Linked DNA regions of Homo sapiens: region 2 is linked to region 1. Evidence: promoter capture Hi-C in 16 types of primary human blood cells and fetal thymus (Javierre and others, 2016). All regions are on one chromosome and are shown on one strand. Each heading gives the region's core, a stretch centred on a gene start or on the middle of the fragment in contact. The rest is flanking DNA. Distances are from core to core; before and after follow the strand shown.

Region 1 (7,335 bases), core at 1,700-4,199:
GGTCCATGCCATTTCCTTCTGTTTCAATGTTATATATGTTTTGATTACTATTGTGATGTTTTAAGTTTTCTGAAGCAAGCTGAGAGGCAGGCCGAAATATTTGATGCCAAAAAAAAAAAAAAACTTTCTTACCTCATTCACCCCAAACCTTCTCAAATCTGGATTAAATACTATACTTTAAAACAAACATGAGGTGCTTCTGAAGGGGAGGAAAATTTATTTCTCTGCTTTTCTATTATACAAGTTGTTTACAGAAACTGCAAATCAAGGCCGGGCACAGTGGCTCACGCCTGTAATCCCAGCGCTTTGGGAGGCCAAGACGGGCGGATCACCTGAGCTCAGGAGTTCGAGACCAGCCTGGCCAACATGGAGAAACCCCATCTCTACTAAAAATACAAAACACTTAGCTGGGTGTGGTGGTGGGCACCTGTAGTCCCAGCTACTTGGGAGGCTGAGGCAGGAGAATCGCTTGAACCTGGGAGGTAGAGGTTGCAGTGAGCCGAGATATCACACCACTGCACTCCAGCCTAGGCGACAGAGTGAGACTCCCTCAAGAAAGAAAGAAAGAAGGAAAGAAAGAAGGAGGGAAGGAAGGAAGGAAGGAAGGAAGGAAGGAAGGAAGGAAGGAGGAAGAAAGAAACTGCAAATTTAAAAAATTACATATAGTGGAAAATTTCAAACACAGCCTGAAGCACGCAGGCCAGGACGAGGTCTCTCTGAGTGTCGTCACCTCCTGCAACGGGAATTAACATTCTGCCCTTCTTCTGTTCTCACTTCTCTCTCCAGCTTTGCACGGGTATTTCACACAAATTCAAGACATCATATGACTTTGCCTGTAGAACCTTCAGAATGTTCTCTAATCACTGAAGCTTTCTGATTTCCCAACACAGAACCACCCAATCAAATTAACACTGTCTTATTATCAACTTGCTCCATGATTATCAACAATAATTTCCTGTTACCAATAACCAGCCTGTGACCCATTGTCCATGATTATCTCAAAAATGTCTTTAATGGCCCGGCGTGGTGGCTCACGTCTGTAATCCCAGCCCTTTGGGAGGCTGAGGCGAGCTGATTGCTTCAGGACAGGAGTTTGAGACCAGCCTGGGCAACATACCAAGACCTCATCTCTACAAAAAATACAAAAAAATTAGCTGGGCATGGTGGCACGTACCTGTAGTCCCAGCTATTTGAAAGGATGAGGTGGGAGGATCGCTTGAGCCCAGGTGGTCAAGGTTGCAGTGAACCATGATGGCACCACTGCACTCCAGCCTGGGCAACAGAGCGAGACCCTGTCTCAAAAGAAATTAAATTTTTTTTTTTTTGAGACGGAGTCTCACTCTGTTGCCCAGGCTGGAGTGCAGTGGCGTGATCTTGGCTCACTGCAACCTCCACCTCCCGGGTTCAAGCGATTCTCCTGCCTCAGCCTCCCAAGTAGCTGGCATTACAGGCGCCCGCCACCACGTCCGGCTAATTTTTGTATTTTTAGTAGAGACGGGGTTTTGCCATGTTGGTCAGGCCGGTCTTGAACTCCTGACCTCAGTTGATTGATCCACACACCTCAGCCTCCCAAAGTGCTGGGATTATAGGTGTGAGCCACCATGCCCGGCTGAAAGGAAATTAAATTTAAGGGCCGAGTGCAGTGGCTCATGCCTGTAATCCCAGCACTTTGGGAGGCCGAGGCGGGTGGATTGCCTGAGCTCAGGAGTTTGAGACCAGCCTGGGCAACATAGCAAAACTCCGTCTCTAGTAAAAATACAAAAAATTAGCCGGGCGTGGTGGCGGGTGCCTGTAATCCCAGCTACTCGGGAGGCTGAGGCAGGAGAATGGCGTGAACCCGGGAGGCGGAGCTTGCAGCGAGCCAAGATCGCACCACTGCACTCCAGCCTGGGCAACAGAGTGAGACTCTGTCTCAAAAAAAAAAAAAAAGAAATTAAATTTAAAAAGGTAAAAAGCAGCTCAGGACCGCCAATGTACAATGCACTCCATATGGCTGTACGTATCTATGTGAGTGTGCATGTGTAGGAAAAGTCTAGGGAGTTTCAGTGGTTAGACGACAATGACCAGGACAACTGTGTGAGCAGCACCTGTGTGGCACTGAGTCATCTCAGGCTCTCCACTCGGCTCTGTCCATCAACGACCGAATCCAGCTCTCACGGCGACTCTACGCTGCATGCTTGTTACTCTACTACAGAGGAGGAAGCAACGCTTACGAAAACCAAGGACCAGAAGAACTCACAATCAAAACTAGTGGGCGGCCGGGCGCGGTGGCTCATATCTGTAATCTCAGCACTTTGAGAGGCCGAGGCGGGCGGATCACCTGAGGTCAGGAGTTTGGGACCAGCATGGCCAACATGGTGAAACCCCATCTCTACTGAAAATACAAAAATTAGCCGGGTGCGGTGGTGCATGCCTGTAATCCCAGCTACTTGGGAGGCTGAGACAGGAGAATCGCTTGAACCCAGGAGGTGGAGGTTGCAGTGAGCTGAGATCGTGCCTCTGCACTGCAGCCTGGGCGACAGAGTGAGAGTCGGTCCCTAAAATTAAAATAAAAAATAGTAGGCAGGCCCAGCGCGGGGCTCACACCTGCAATCCCAGCACTTTGAAAGGCTGAGGCAGGAAAATCACTTGAGCCCAGGAGTTTCAGACCAGCCTGGGTAACATAGTGAGACCCCGTCTCAATTAAAATTAAAAAAAAATTAAGCAGGTGTAGTGATATCCACCTGTGGTCCCAGCTACTCAGGAGGTTGAGGTGGGAGGATCGCTTGAGTCCAAGAGGTTGAGGCTGTAGTGAGCCATGATTATGCCACTGCACTCCAGCCTGGGTGACAAAGTGAGACCCTGTCCCCCCCCCAAAAAAAAAAGTGGGCAAATATCGACCCAGTTGTTCTCCTTTCACGTTCTGCACTGATGATCAGTTCCCATCCACCCCACACTGTTAACAGTGGTTAATTCTGGGGAGTGAGATTTGTGATGAAGATGTCTCCATTCTCACTCCTGCAGTACGAGACTTCTTTACAAATATATTCTCAACAGGGTGAACATCAATTCTTGGGGAGATGAAAACAAATTTTACTTTTTTTATGGATTAAGCCCAGAAAACAGAACATAAACAGATACACAGTCTATCTATGATATTGAAATTTCACAGGTATAGGCTGGGCTCGGTGGCTCACACCTGCAATCCCAGCACTTTTGGAGGCTGAGGTGGGAAGATCACTTGAGGCCAGGAGTTCAAGATCATCCTGGACAACATAGCAAGACCCAATCTCTAGAAAGAATAAAAATTTAAAAATTATCCAGGCATGGTGGTGTGCACCTGTTATCCCAGCTTTGGTGACTGAGGCGGGAGGATTGCTTGAGCCTGGGAGTTGGAAGCTGCTGCAGGGAGCTGAGATGGCGTTACTGCACTCCAGCTTGAGTGACAGAGAAAGAAGATCCTGTCTCTAAGATAAAAACAAACAAAAACTCCATTATATAATAATGCTACTTGGGGCCAGTCACAGTGGCTCACGCCTGTAATCCTAACACTGTGGGAGGCCGAGGCAGGCGGATCACCTAAGGTCAGGAGTTTGAGACCAGCCTGGCCAACATGGTGAAACCCCGTGTCTACTAAAAATACAAAAATTAGCTGGGCGTGGTGGCGGGCACCTGTAATCTTAGCTACTCAGGAGGCTGAGGCAGGAGAATCGCTTGAACCCAGGAGGTGGAGGTTGCAGTGAGCCGAGATCACGCCACTGCACTCCAGCCTGGGTGACAAGAGCAAAACTCCTTCTCAAAAATAATAATAATAAGGCCGAGTGTGGTGGCTCACACCTGTAATCCCAGCACTTTGGGAGGCCGAGGTGGGTGGATCACGAGGTCAGCAGATCGAGACCATCCTGGCTAACACGGTGAAACCCCGTCTCTACTAAAAATACAAAAAATTAGCCAGGCGTGGTGGCGGGCGCCTGTAGTGCCAGCTACTCGGGAGGCTGAGGCAGGAGAATGGCGTGAACCCAGGAGGCAGAGCTTGCAGTGAGCCGAGATTGCGCCACTGCACTCCAGCCTGGGCAACAGAGTGAGACTCTGTTTCAAAAAAAAAAAAAAAAAAGAAATTAAATTTAGAAAGGTAAAAAGCAGCTCAGGACTGCCAATGTACAATGCGCTCCATATTGCTGTACGTATCTATGTGAGTGTGCATGTGTAGGAAAAGTCTAGGGAGTTTCAGTGGTTAGACGACAATGACCAGGACAACTGTGTGAGCAGCACCTGTGTGGCACTGAGTCATCTCAGGCTCTCCACTCGGCTCTGTCCATCAACGACCGAATCCAGCTCTCACGGCGACTCTACGCTGCATGCTTGTTACTCTACTACAGAGGAGGAAGCAACGCTTACGAAAACCAAGGACCAAAAGAACTCACAATCAAAACTAGTGGGCGGCCGGGCGCGGTGGCTCATATCTGTTAATCCCAGCACTTTGGGAGGCCAAGGTGGGCGGATCACCTGAGGTCAGGAGTTCGAGACCAGCCTGGCCAACATGGTGAAACCACATCTCTACTGAAAATACAGAATTGGCCGGGCGTGGTGGCTCACGCCTGTACTCCCAGCACTTTGGGAGGCCGAGGCGGGCGGATCACGAGGTCAGGAGATCGAGACCATCCTGGCTAACACGGTGAAACCCCATCTCTACTAAAAATACAAAAAATTAGCTGGGTGTGGTGGCGGGCGCCTGTAGTCCCAGCTACTCGGGAGGCTGAGGCAGGAGAATGGTGTGAACCCAGGAGGCAGAGCTTGCAGTGAGCTGAGATCGCGCCACTGCACTCCAGCCTGAGCGACAGAGCGAGACTCCGTCTCAAAAAAAATGAAAAGTAATAAAATAATAATAATAATAATAATAATAATAATAATAATAATAATAATAATGCTACTTGGGCATCTTCCGTCAAAAGAATCAGACATCGGGTGCATTTAAATCTCTTGCCACCGTTATTCTTTCTAAGGAGCCACTAGGAAAAGGATGTCTCAAAAGAAGGTGATCACGGAAAAAGAAAGCTTATGAAACACTGACTTCTGTAATCACGTTTTCAGTTGAAAGAAATGGAAACTGATCTAACTTCCAGCTCACCTCAAGCTGGAAAGAAGTCTAGTTTCTAGAAGCATCTCCAAAATTGGAAAGTGAAGTTTCTAGCATACAGTTCCACCGAGGGCCCATGATGAAGAGGGGGAGAGGCGGGCACGAGGCGAAGCGGGTGCCCCGCGCTCGGCTGGAAAAAGCCAATGTCACCGGGCTGTGCTATTTGCTTGTGGGAGGGACGCCTGGGGTGGGGGCGTGCCGCTGGTTGCTCCGCCGCAGACACCACGTGGTGCTTTTTGAACTGATCAGAGCCCCAGCCTGCCTGCTTTGCTGTCCCGGGCTGACCTCCGAAAACACCGCACTTTCCCCTCGCTGACTTGGTAGATGTCTGTCTGTCTGCTTGAGTATCTCGAAGATCTGAGGTTTCCATTCCAGCAGAATAAATACTAGGAGGGCCCACCCCTTCCTCCTCCCAGCCGAGGCTGGATGAATCCAAATAAACCCAGCTGGTGGGGAAGAGCATTTCTAGGACTTCGGCGGGAGAAAGCACCGCCCACCCGGGTGGGTTTCCAGGAGGTGGAGGTGCGGACCTGGGAGGGGGGCCCTCGGGCAGCCCTGCCATGCAGCCGCGTCACTCCGCCTGCCTGATGTCACAGGAGCTGGGGGAGTTTGGGTATTTCATGAAGCTGTTGAGTTATTGTGGCTTTGGTTTGTGACACCGGCGTTCAGGCACGGCCTAAAGGCAACATCAAAGACGGTGCATGAAAACCGGGGGTTAGGCCGGGCGCGGTGGCTCACGCCTGTAATCCCAGCACTTTGGGAGACCGAGGCAGGCGGATCACCTGCGGTCAGGAGTTCGAGACCAGCCTGGGCAATACGGCGAAACCCCGTCTCTACTAAAAATACAAAAATTAGCCGGGGGTGGTGGTGCTGGCCTGTGATCCCAGCTACTCAGGAGGCTGAGGCAGGAGAATCGCTTGAGCCCTGGAGGTGGAGGTTGCAGAGAGCTGAGATGGCGCCACCGCACTCCAGCCTGGGCAACAGAGCAAGACTCCATCTCAAAAAAAAAAAAAAATTAGATTGTGGTAATGGTTACACAACTCTGGATATTCTAAAAACCACTGAATTGTACACTTTAAAAAGTGAATTCTATGGCATGTAAAAATCTCAATAAAGCTGTCATATAAAATAAATATATATAAATATGATGCCAAAATATATACATAAATATGGTAATAAAAAATTAAGGCCCTTAAACAGCTTGTGTTTATGTAGATTTTAGCTATACTCCTGTTACAAGTTAACATAATCCCATTAAATATTTTTTTAAACCATATATTTTATATTAGGAGGATGACACGTTTAAGTGAAAAGTAACTATTTTTCAAAAAAAAAAAACATTGAGGGGAAATAGTGGCATTGTTTTACATTTTTGCAAATTTCTTTCATGTCTGGCTTAATAGAAGACAGCTGGATTCTTGTATAAGCCTCTGAGTTCAATCCACTGTGATATCAAACGTCATGCAACCTCTGAAAACTCCACCATCTGTGTGGGAGAGACTGGGAGGAAGGAGACCCAGAGTATCTTGGCATTTTTTTTTTTTTTTTTTTGTGAGATGGAGTCTCGCTCTGTCACCCAGGCTGGAGTGCAGTGGCGCAATCTCAGCTCACTTCAACCTCCGCCTCCTGGGTTCAAGTGATTCTCCTGCCTCAGCCTCCCAAGTAGCTGGGATTACAGGCGCCACCACCACACCTGGCTAATTTTTTTTTTTAATTTTTAGTAGAGACAGGGTTTCACCATGTTGGCCAGGCTGGTCTCGAACTCCTGAGCTCAGGTGATCCACCCACCTTGACCTCTCAAAGCGCTGGGATTACAGGTGTGAGCCACAGTGCCTGGCTTCTATCTTAGCAGTTTTGACCTAGTGGTCCCCCACCAAAAGGGTCTCAGAGACCAACCCCTGGGTGTCCCTGGACCACACTTTGAGAACTCCAATACACAGGTATTCTCTCTACTTCACAGAAGAGAAAATGCGATCCAAGATGGTAATAAACCTGCTCAAGTCCTCAAAGCTGAAAAGTACGGCTGAAGGAGAATAAAAAAGAGAAACATAAAGCAGTTGTGGTGGTGTGTGCCTGTGCTCCCAGCTACTTGGGAGGCTGAAGTGGTAGGATCGCTTGAGCCCGGGAGTTTGAGGCTGCAGTGAGCTAGGATCACGCCACTACACTCCAGCCTGGGTGACAAGGAGAGACCTCCCCCCCGCCACCATCTCCAAAAACAA
Region 2 (7,335 bases), core at 2,499-4,998, 310 kb before region 1:
CTGGGATGACAGGCGTGAGCCACCGCGCCCGGCTCCAGTATTTCTTTACAGCAGTGTGAGAACTGACTCACAGAAAGGCCAAATGAAACAAGCCCTGGGTTATGTCTAAGATGGGGCACTGGGGACACCTCAGAGAGGGTGGGGCTGTGGGGCTCACCTTGGCGACCAGGATGTGCCAGGCGTCCTCGTGCGCGCGCACCACGCGGTAATACAGGGCGTCCCCGCTCTCTGCGCAGGGTGAGCTGTCTAGGAGGCGGAAGCTGTGGCCGGGGTGGCAGGGCCCGGGGTGGCCCCCCATGAGCCGGGCACGGAGCCGGGCATAGATGGTACGGAGGCCCTGCAGCTGCCGCGCAGCCAGTGCAGTGTGCACAGCCTCCGGGCTGTGCAGATCGCGGAGGGAGAGGCCCAGTGGGGCGTCAGCCGGGCCAAAGGTCAGCTCTGCAGGGAGACAGGCTGGTCCCACTGCAGCCTGGCTCTTGTCCACACTGTGGGACCCCAGAAAGGGTCTCCGAGGCGGCTGTACTTGGATGGAGCTGGGATGGAGGGTCCTGCGGGTGGGCAGTGACTGGGTCCGGGTTAGGATCTTCTTGGGCAGGGGTGGGGGCAGGGGCTCTGGGTTGGTGGAGAGGGACCCAGGGGTCCGGAGGCGGCAGGCCTTGGAGGGCAGCAGGTGGGCACGGATCTGACCTGCAGGGAGAGACAGTGGGGGAGGGTTGAGGACAGGCGGAGTGGGAACGGGACACGTGACTCCACCTCTCAGCCTCGGTTTCCCCATCTCTAACATGGAAGTAATGAGGCTGGGCGCCGGTGGCTCATGCTTGTAATCCCAGCACTTAGGAAGGTGGAAGCCGAGGCAGGAGGATCACTGGAACCTAGGGTTTGAGACCAGCCTGGGCAACATAGTGAGACCCTGTCTCTGCAAAAATTTTTTAAAAATTTGCCGGACGCGGCCATGCACAATGGCTCATGCCTGTAATTCCAGCACTTTGGGAGGCCGAGATGGGTGGATCACGAGGTCAGGAGATCGAGACCATCCTGGCTAACACGGTGAAACCCCGTCTTTACTAAAAATACAAAAAATTAGCCGGGCTTGGTGGTGGGCGCCTGTGGTCCCAGCTACTCGGGAGGCTGAGGCAGGAAAATTGTGTGAACTTGAGAAGTGGAGCTTGCAGTGAACCGAGATTGTGCCACTGCACTCCAGCCTGGGCGGCAGAGCTTACAGAAGGGGAAACTGAGGCTTATAGGAGGATGGATCAGTTTCAGAGAGTGATGCCACCCAGCACTCAGCGACTCCCACTTACCTCCGTGGCTTTGCACAAGCGTCTGTCTTGCTTTTTTTCTTTTTTGAAGTCTTGCTCTGTCGCCCAGCCTGGAGTGCAGTGGCACGATCTCGGCTCACTGCAACCTCCGCCTCCTAGGTTCAAGCGATTCTCCTACCTCAGCCTCCCAAGTAGCTGGGACTACAGGTGCCCGCCCGCCACTATGCCCAGCTAATTTTTGTATTTTTAGTAGAGATGGGGTTTCACCATGTTAGCCAGGCTGGTTTCAAACTCCTGACCTCAGGTGATCTGCCTGACTCGGCCTCCCAAAGTGCTGGGATTACAGGCTTGAACCATTGCACCTGGCCTTTTTTTTTTTTTTTTTTTTTTTTTTTGAGATGGAGTCTCCCTCTGTCGCCCAGGCTGGAGTGCGGTGGCTCAGTCTTGGCTCACTGCACCCTCTGCCTCACAGGTTCAAGCGATTCTCCTGCCTCAGCCTCCCGAGTAGCTGGAATTACAGGCATGCACCACCATGTCTGGCTAATTTTTGTATTTTTAGCAGAGACAGGTTTTGCCATGTTGGCCAGGCTGGTCTTGAACTCCTGGCCTCAAGTGATCCTCCTCCTTGGCCTCCCAAAGTGCTGGGATTAAAGGGTGGGATTACAGGCATGAGTTACCGTGCCCAGCCTCTCTCTCTTTTTAATGGTATATATTTTTTTCTATTTCATGGCTCACTGCAGCCTTGACCTCCTGGGCTCAAGGGATCCTCCCACCTCAGCTTCCCGAGCAGCTGGGACTGCAGGCTCTTGACACCATGTCCATCTCATTTTTTTTGTTTTGTAGAGATGGGGGGCGGGTCTCATTATATTGCCCAGGCCGGTCTTGAACTCCTGGCCTCAAGGGATCCACCTGCCTCAGCCTCCCAAGGTGCTGGGATTACAGGCGTGAGCCACCACGCCCCGCCCACCAACCCACAGGTTATTTTTCAGCCCTGGCCTACTCCGGGCCTTCCCGGAGGTCACTCATTTTACCAGCTGCTGCTGTTCCCAGAGGCCATGGTGCCCGGCAACCTCCTGCCGCTCCCTGCACCCACCTGCCGCTCCCTGCACCCCCCTGCCGCTCCCTGCACCCCCGCAGCCCAGGGCTCCCTGGGGAGCTGCTTACCAAGGTTGCTATACGTGGGCTGAGTCGACCAGGTGGGGTTGTCGGGCTCGGGGGGCTCTGTGGGGGGCTCCGGGCTGCTCATGTTGCTGGGGAAAGGTCAAACGGGGCGTGTGTGGGGTGACCGTGTGCACGCACAGGGCGACATGGGGAGGGGTCCGTGAGTGCTGGGGCCTGGGAGACCGTCGAGGCCTCCTGCTCCAGGGCCCTTGGTGAGAACAGGCGCACCCACACTCCACTCCCTTGTCCAGTTTTGACCCTGCTGTGTGATCCCGAGTGGGTTTCCTGTCCTCTCTGGGCCCCTGCTGTGTGATCCCGAGTGGGTTTCCTGTCCTCTCTGGGCCCCTGCTGTGTGATCCCGAGTGGGTTTCCTACTCTCTCTGGGCCCCTGCTGTGTGATTCTGAGTGGGTTTGCTGCCCTCTCTGGGGCCCTGCTGTGTGATCCTGAGTGGGTTTGCTGCCCTCTCTGGGCCCCTGATGTGTGATCCCGAGTGGGTTTCCTGCCCTCTCTGGGGCCCTGCTGTGTGATCCCGAGTGGGTTTCCTACTCTCTCTGGGCCCCTGCTGTGTGATTCTGAGTGGGTTTCCTGCCCTCTCTGGGGCCCTGCTGTGTGATCCCGAGTGGGTTTCCTACTCTCTCTGGGCCCCTGCTGTGTGATTCTGAGTGGGTTTGCTGCCCTCTCTGGGGCCCTGCTGTGTGATCCTGAGTGGGTTTGCTGCCCTCTCTGGGCCCCTGATGTGTGATCCCGAGTGGGTTTCCTGCCCTCTCTGGGGCCCTGCTGTGTGATCCCGAGTGGGTTTCCTGCCCTCTCTGGGGCCCTGCTGTGTGATCCCGAGTGGGTTTCCTACTCTCTCTGGGCCCCTGCTGTGTGATTCTGAGTGGGTTTCCTGCCCTCTCTGGGGCCCTGCTGTGTGATCCCGAGTGGGTTTCCTGCCCTCTCTGGGCCCACTTCCTCAATCATGAGGCAGGTCTGTCACCCATCAATTTTCCAGGCAGTGGGAAGGACCCCCCTCTGCACGTTTGGGATGGGGACAGAGTGTTCAGCCTGAGGACAGGCCTTTGGGGGTCAGTTGCGGGGGAGACAGTGTCCAGGGACCCAGGGATCCACACTCAGGCCTCATCCCCGAGGGCTCAGCCGTGCGGTTGCTGCCGGCAGCCAGGCCTCGACCCACCCCCGCCCAGATCCCAACCTCAAAAAGTGGCCGCTTCTGTCCAGCTCCCCGCTCCAGGAGCCCCCTACCTTCAAGACTGGCGTGCCCTCTGGGGGAGGAGGGGTCCGTGGGGACAAACTCCCAATGGCCACAGCCCCTGGCCTCGCAGGAGGGGTCTGACCTGGCGCCGGCAGCTGACAGGAAAACGTCCGGCCCACTGTCAGACCGCAGCCCGGGGTGGGGAGGGGACATTTCTGCAACACTTCCCCAGCAGCCGAGGCCGCCGCCTCCCCTGCCCGCCCGCAGAGGACAGGATGTAACCGGGAGGGAACAGCCTGGACAGAGACCAGGAGGTGGGATCTGAAAGTCAATAGCCCCAGGGCTGACAGCCGGGTGGGGGCAGTGGAAGGCCCCCCACAGCCTCAGAGGCCAGGCTGGGGTGCGGGGCAGTGGGGAGCCCTGTGAGATGGGGAGAGAGGGGCAGAGCTGGCCCACCGTAGGGGAGCGCACAGAACACGGTGGCGGCTGTCCCTGGAGAAGGTGCAAGTGGGGTCTGTGGGTTTCACTTCCCCGGGAACCACCTCCCCTCCTGCGGCAGCATCTGAGGAGCCCCCAGCGGCCCCCTGCCCCATCCCAGGGCCCCCGAATGTGGAGCGTGGGCGAGGACCCTCCCGGCTCTGCCGCGCCTCGCTGTGTGACTGCGGGCAAATCCCCACCCTCTCCGTGCTCCGGCGAAGAAAGAAGAGTGGCTCCCACATCCCGCCTGCTAACAGCCACGCCTGCTGGATTTTTCTTTGAAAAGATGGAATCGGCTCGTTTTCCCCCTTCCCCCTTCCTCACTGCCTCGATGCATTTATTTAGAAAAGACGTTTTAGATAAAATCACCATAAATGGAAAAATCAAGAATGGAAAAAACCCAAGGAAAAGCAGACGCGGGGTGAAATTCCAGCTGAACTGCGTGCCTGTCAAAACTGTCTTTTTCTTTGGAGACAGGGTCTCACACTGTTGCCCAGGCTGGAGCGCAGTGGTGCAATCCCAGCTCACTGCAGCCTGGAACGAGCTCCTGGGGCGATCCTCCCTCCTCGGCCTCCCAAAGTGCTAGGATCACAGGTGTGAGCCACCCTGCCCGGCCCCAAAGATGTTTTTGCTGCAAGGATTGAGTGTATTTTATGTGGGATCCCCGATCCCGTTTCCCTTAGGGAAAATGGGCCCAGAAAGAGTAGGGGCTCCATCCAGGGTCACGCAGCAGCTCGAGGCTGGGAGCAGAGGTCCACAGAGCCACTGCTGAGTCCCCCTGGCCTCCCCCAATCCCCTGAGAAGGGGCAGGAGGGGAAGGAGACTACATTTTTCTTATGAACTTCCCTTGAGTGGGTCCCATGCCACACTTTTTTTTCTTTGAGGCAGGGTCTAGCTCCGTCCCCTAGGCTGGAGTGCCGTGGTGTGATCATAGCTCACTGCAGCCTCCGCCTCCTGGGCTCAAGTGATTCTCCCACCTCAGCCTCCTGAGTAGCTGGGACCACTGGTGTGCACCACCATGCCTGGTTAATTTTTATTTTATTTATTTATTTTTGAGATGGAGTCTCACTCTGTTGTCCAGGCTGCAGTGCAGTGGCGCAATCTTGGCTGACTGCAACCTCCGCCTCCCGGGTTCAAGCAATTCTCCTGCCTCAGGCTCCCAAGTAGCTGGTACTACAGGCGTGCACCACCACACCTGGCTAATTTTTGTATTATTATTATTATTTTTAGTAGAGTTGGGGTTTCACCGTGTTGGCCAGCCTGGTCTCGAACTCCTGACCTCAGGTGACCTGCCCGCCTCAGCCTCCCAAAATGCTGGGATTACAGGCGTGAGCCACTGCGCCCGCCACAGAGTTTAAAATGATGCAAAGGCTGGGCACATGCCTGTAATCCCAGCACTTTGAGAGGCTGAGGTGGGTGGATCACTTGAGCCCAGGAGTTTGGTACCATCCTGGGCAACACAGTGAGACCCCATCTCTACAAAAAATAAAACATGAGCCTGGCACAGTGGCGTGTGCCTGTGGTCCCAGCTACTCAGAAGGCTGAGGTGGGGGCATTGCTTGAGTCCAGGAGGTCGAGGCTGCAGGGAGCTATGATCATAACACTGAACTCCAGCCTGGGCAACAGAGTGAGACCCTATCACAAAAATAAATCAATAATAAATAATAAAACAATGCAAAAACAGACAAACATGCACCTCAGTAATCAAGATAAACATCATTTTACTGAATGTTTCACAAAACCTAACCGGCAAACTATGGGCCGAGCCTCTGTTTTTGTCAATAAAGTTTTATTGGAACCCGGGTGGAGGAGCAGGGTAAGGCAAAGAGAAGCAGGGTTAAACAAGTGCAGATCAGATCCTGTCTTTATTTAAAATATTGATAGGCCAGGTGTGGTGGCTCATGCCTGTAATCCCAGCCCTTTGGGAGGCTGAGGCTGGTGGATCACCTGAGGTCAGGAGTTTGAGACCAGCCTGGCCAACATGCTGAAACCCCATCTCTACTAAAAATACAAAAAAAAAAAAAAAATTATTCGGGCATGGAGGTGGGTGCCTGTGATCCCAGCTACTCTGGAGGCTGAGGCAGGAGAATCGCTTGAACCCGGGAGGCGGAGGTTGCAGTGAGATGAGATTGCACCACTGCACTCCAGCCTGGGTGACAGAGCAAGACTCCGTTTAAAAAAAAAAAAAAAAAGGCTGGGCGTAGTGGCTCATGCCTGTAATCCCAGCACTTTGGGAGGCTGAGGCAGGCAGATCACCTGAGGTCGGGAGATCGAGACCATCCTAGCCAAGATGGTGAAACCCCGTCTCTACTAAAAACACAAAATTAGCCAGGCATGGTAGCCTGCACCTGTAATCCCAGTTACTCGGGAGGCTGAGGCAGGAGAATCGCTTGAACCCGGGAGGCAGAGGTTGCAGTGAGCTGAGATCGTGCACTCCAGCCTGGGTGAAACTCTGTCTTCAAAAAAAAAAAAAATGTTGGTAGCGTGGTGTGGCCTCTGGATCAGGCCCCTCCAGATCCTACAGCTGTCCTTTCATTTGAGAAGCCCTTATTGAGCCATGGGAGCTGGGGCCACATTTTCTCTGGATCCCCAGCATCACCCAGTACGGGGCAGGGCAGGGATGCCGTATGCTGATGGATTTTTACATGACATCGGCCTTTTGGAGAAAAATGCCTGTGTTTTGTTTGTTTGAGACAGGGTCTCACTCTGTAGCCAGGCTGGAGTTCAGTGGTGCGATCTCGGCTCACTGTAACCTTCCCCTCCCCGGTTCAAGCGATTCTCCTGCCTCAGCCCCCTGAGTAGCTGGGATTACAGGTGGCCGCCACCACGCCCAGCAAATTTTTGTATTTTCGAAAAGATGGGGTTTCGCCATGTTGGCGAGGCTGGTCTCGAACTCCTGACCACAGGTGATCCACCCGCCTCGGCCTCCCAAAGTGCTGGGATTACAGACGTGAGCCACCATGCCCAGCCTATTGCAGGACTATTAGCTTCCAAATTACAGACAAACAAACCGAGGCACAGAGAGGGGCAGTGACTTGCCCCAGGCCACACAGCAATGGAAGCCGGAGACCTGAGCCTCCAGCTTCCCTTGGCTCCACAAGCAAAAGCTCACATGTGGGAATTGTGCCTCTGTCTTGTGGAGGAAAACAGGAGGAAGTTCATACGCAGGGCTCAGGAATCACCTGGAAAAGATGCCGGCTTGTCGGGGGATGTGGGAGAGAGAGAGACACCCCAAACGCGTGTCCCTG

The links. The method cuts DNA at HindIII sites, captures the fragments that hold promoters and counts their contacts. A CHiCAGO score of 5 or more calls a contact.
Region 2: a contact is called between the fragment with the promoter of PEAK3 here and a fragment that was not itself captured in region 1, in 1 of 17 cell types (total B cells). The highest score is 5.2, in total B cells.

What each region holds. Positions count from the first base shown.
Region 1 is chr19:2,593,821-2,601,155 of GRCh38, forward strand. The region is part of intron 2 of GNG7 (G protein subunit gamma 7); the gene reads right to left. It also overlaps the pseudogene RN7SL121P. Among named protein-coding and RNA genes, the nearest start is that of MIR7850, 33 kb to the right of the region's middle. The HindIII fragment of the contact is 4,165 bases long and covers 868-5,032 here.
Region 2 is chr19:2,278,427-2,285,761 of GRCh38, forward strand. It overlaps PEAK3 (PEAK family member 3), which reads right to left and starts at 3,749. Exons shown (of 4, transcript NM_198532.3): 1 at 3,661-3,749; 2 at 2,424-2,509; 3 at 158-687. The coding sequence starts at 2,505. RefSeq lists an enhancer at 3,465-3,604. The HindIII fragment of the contact is 9,031 bases long and covers 1-7,335 here.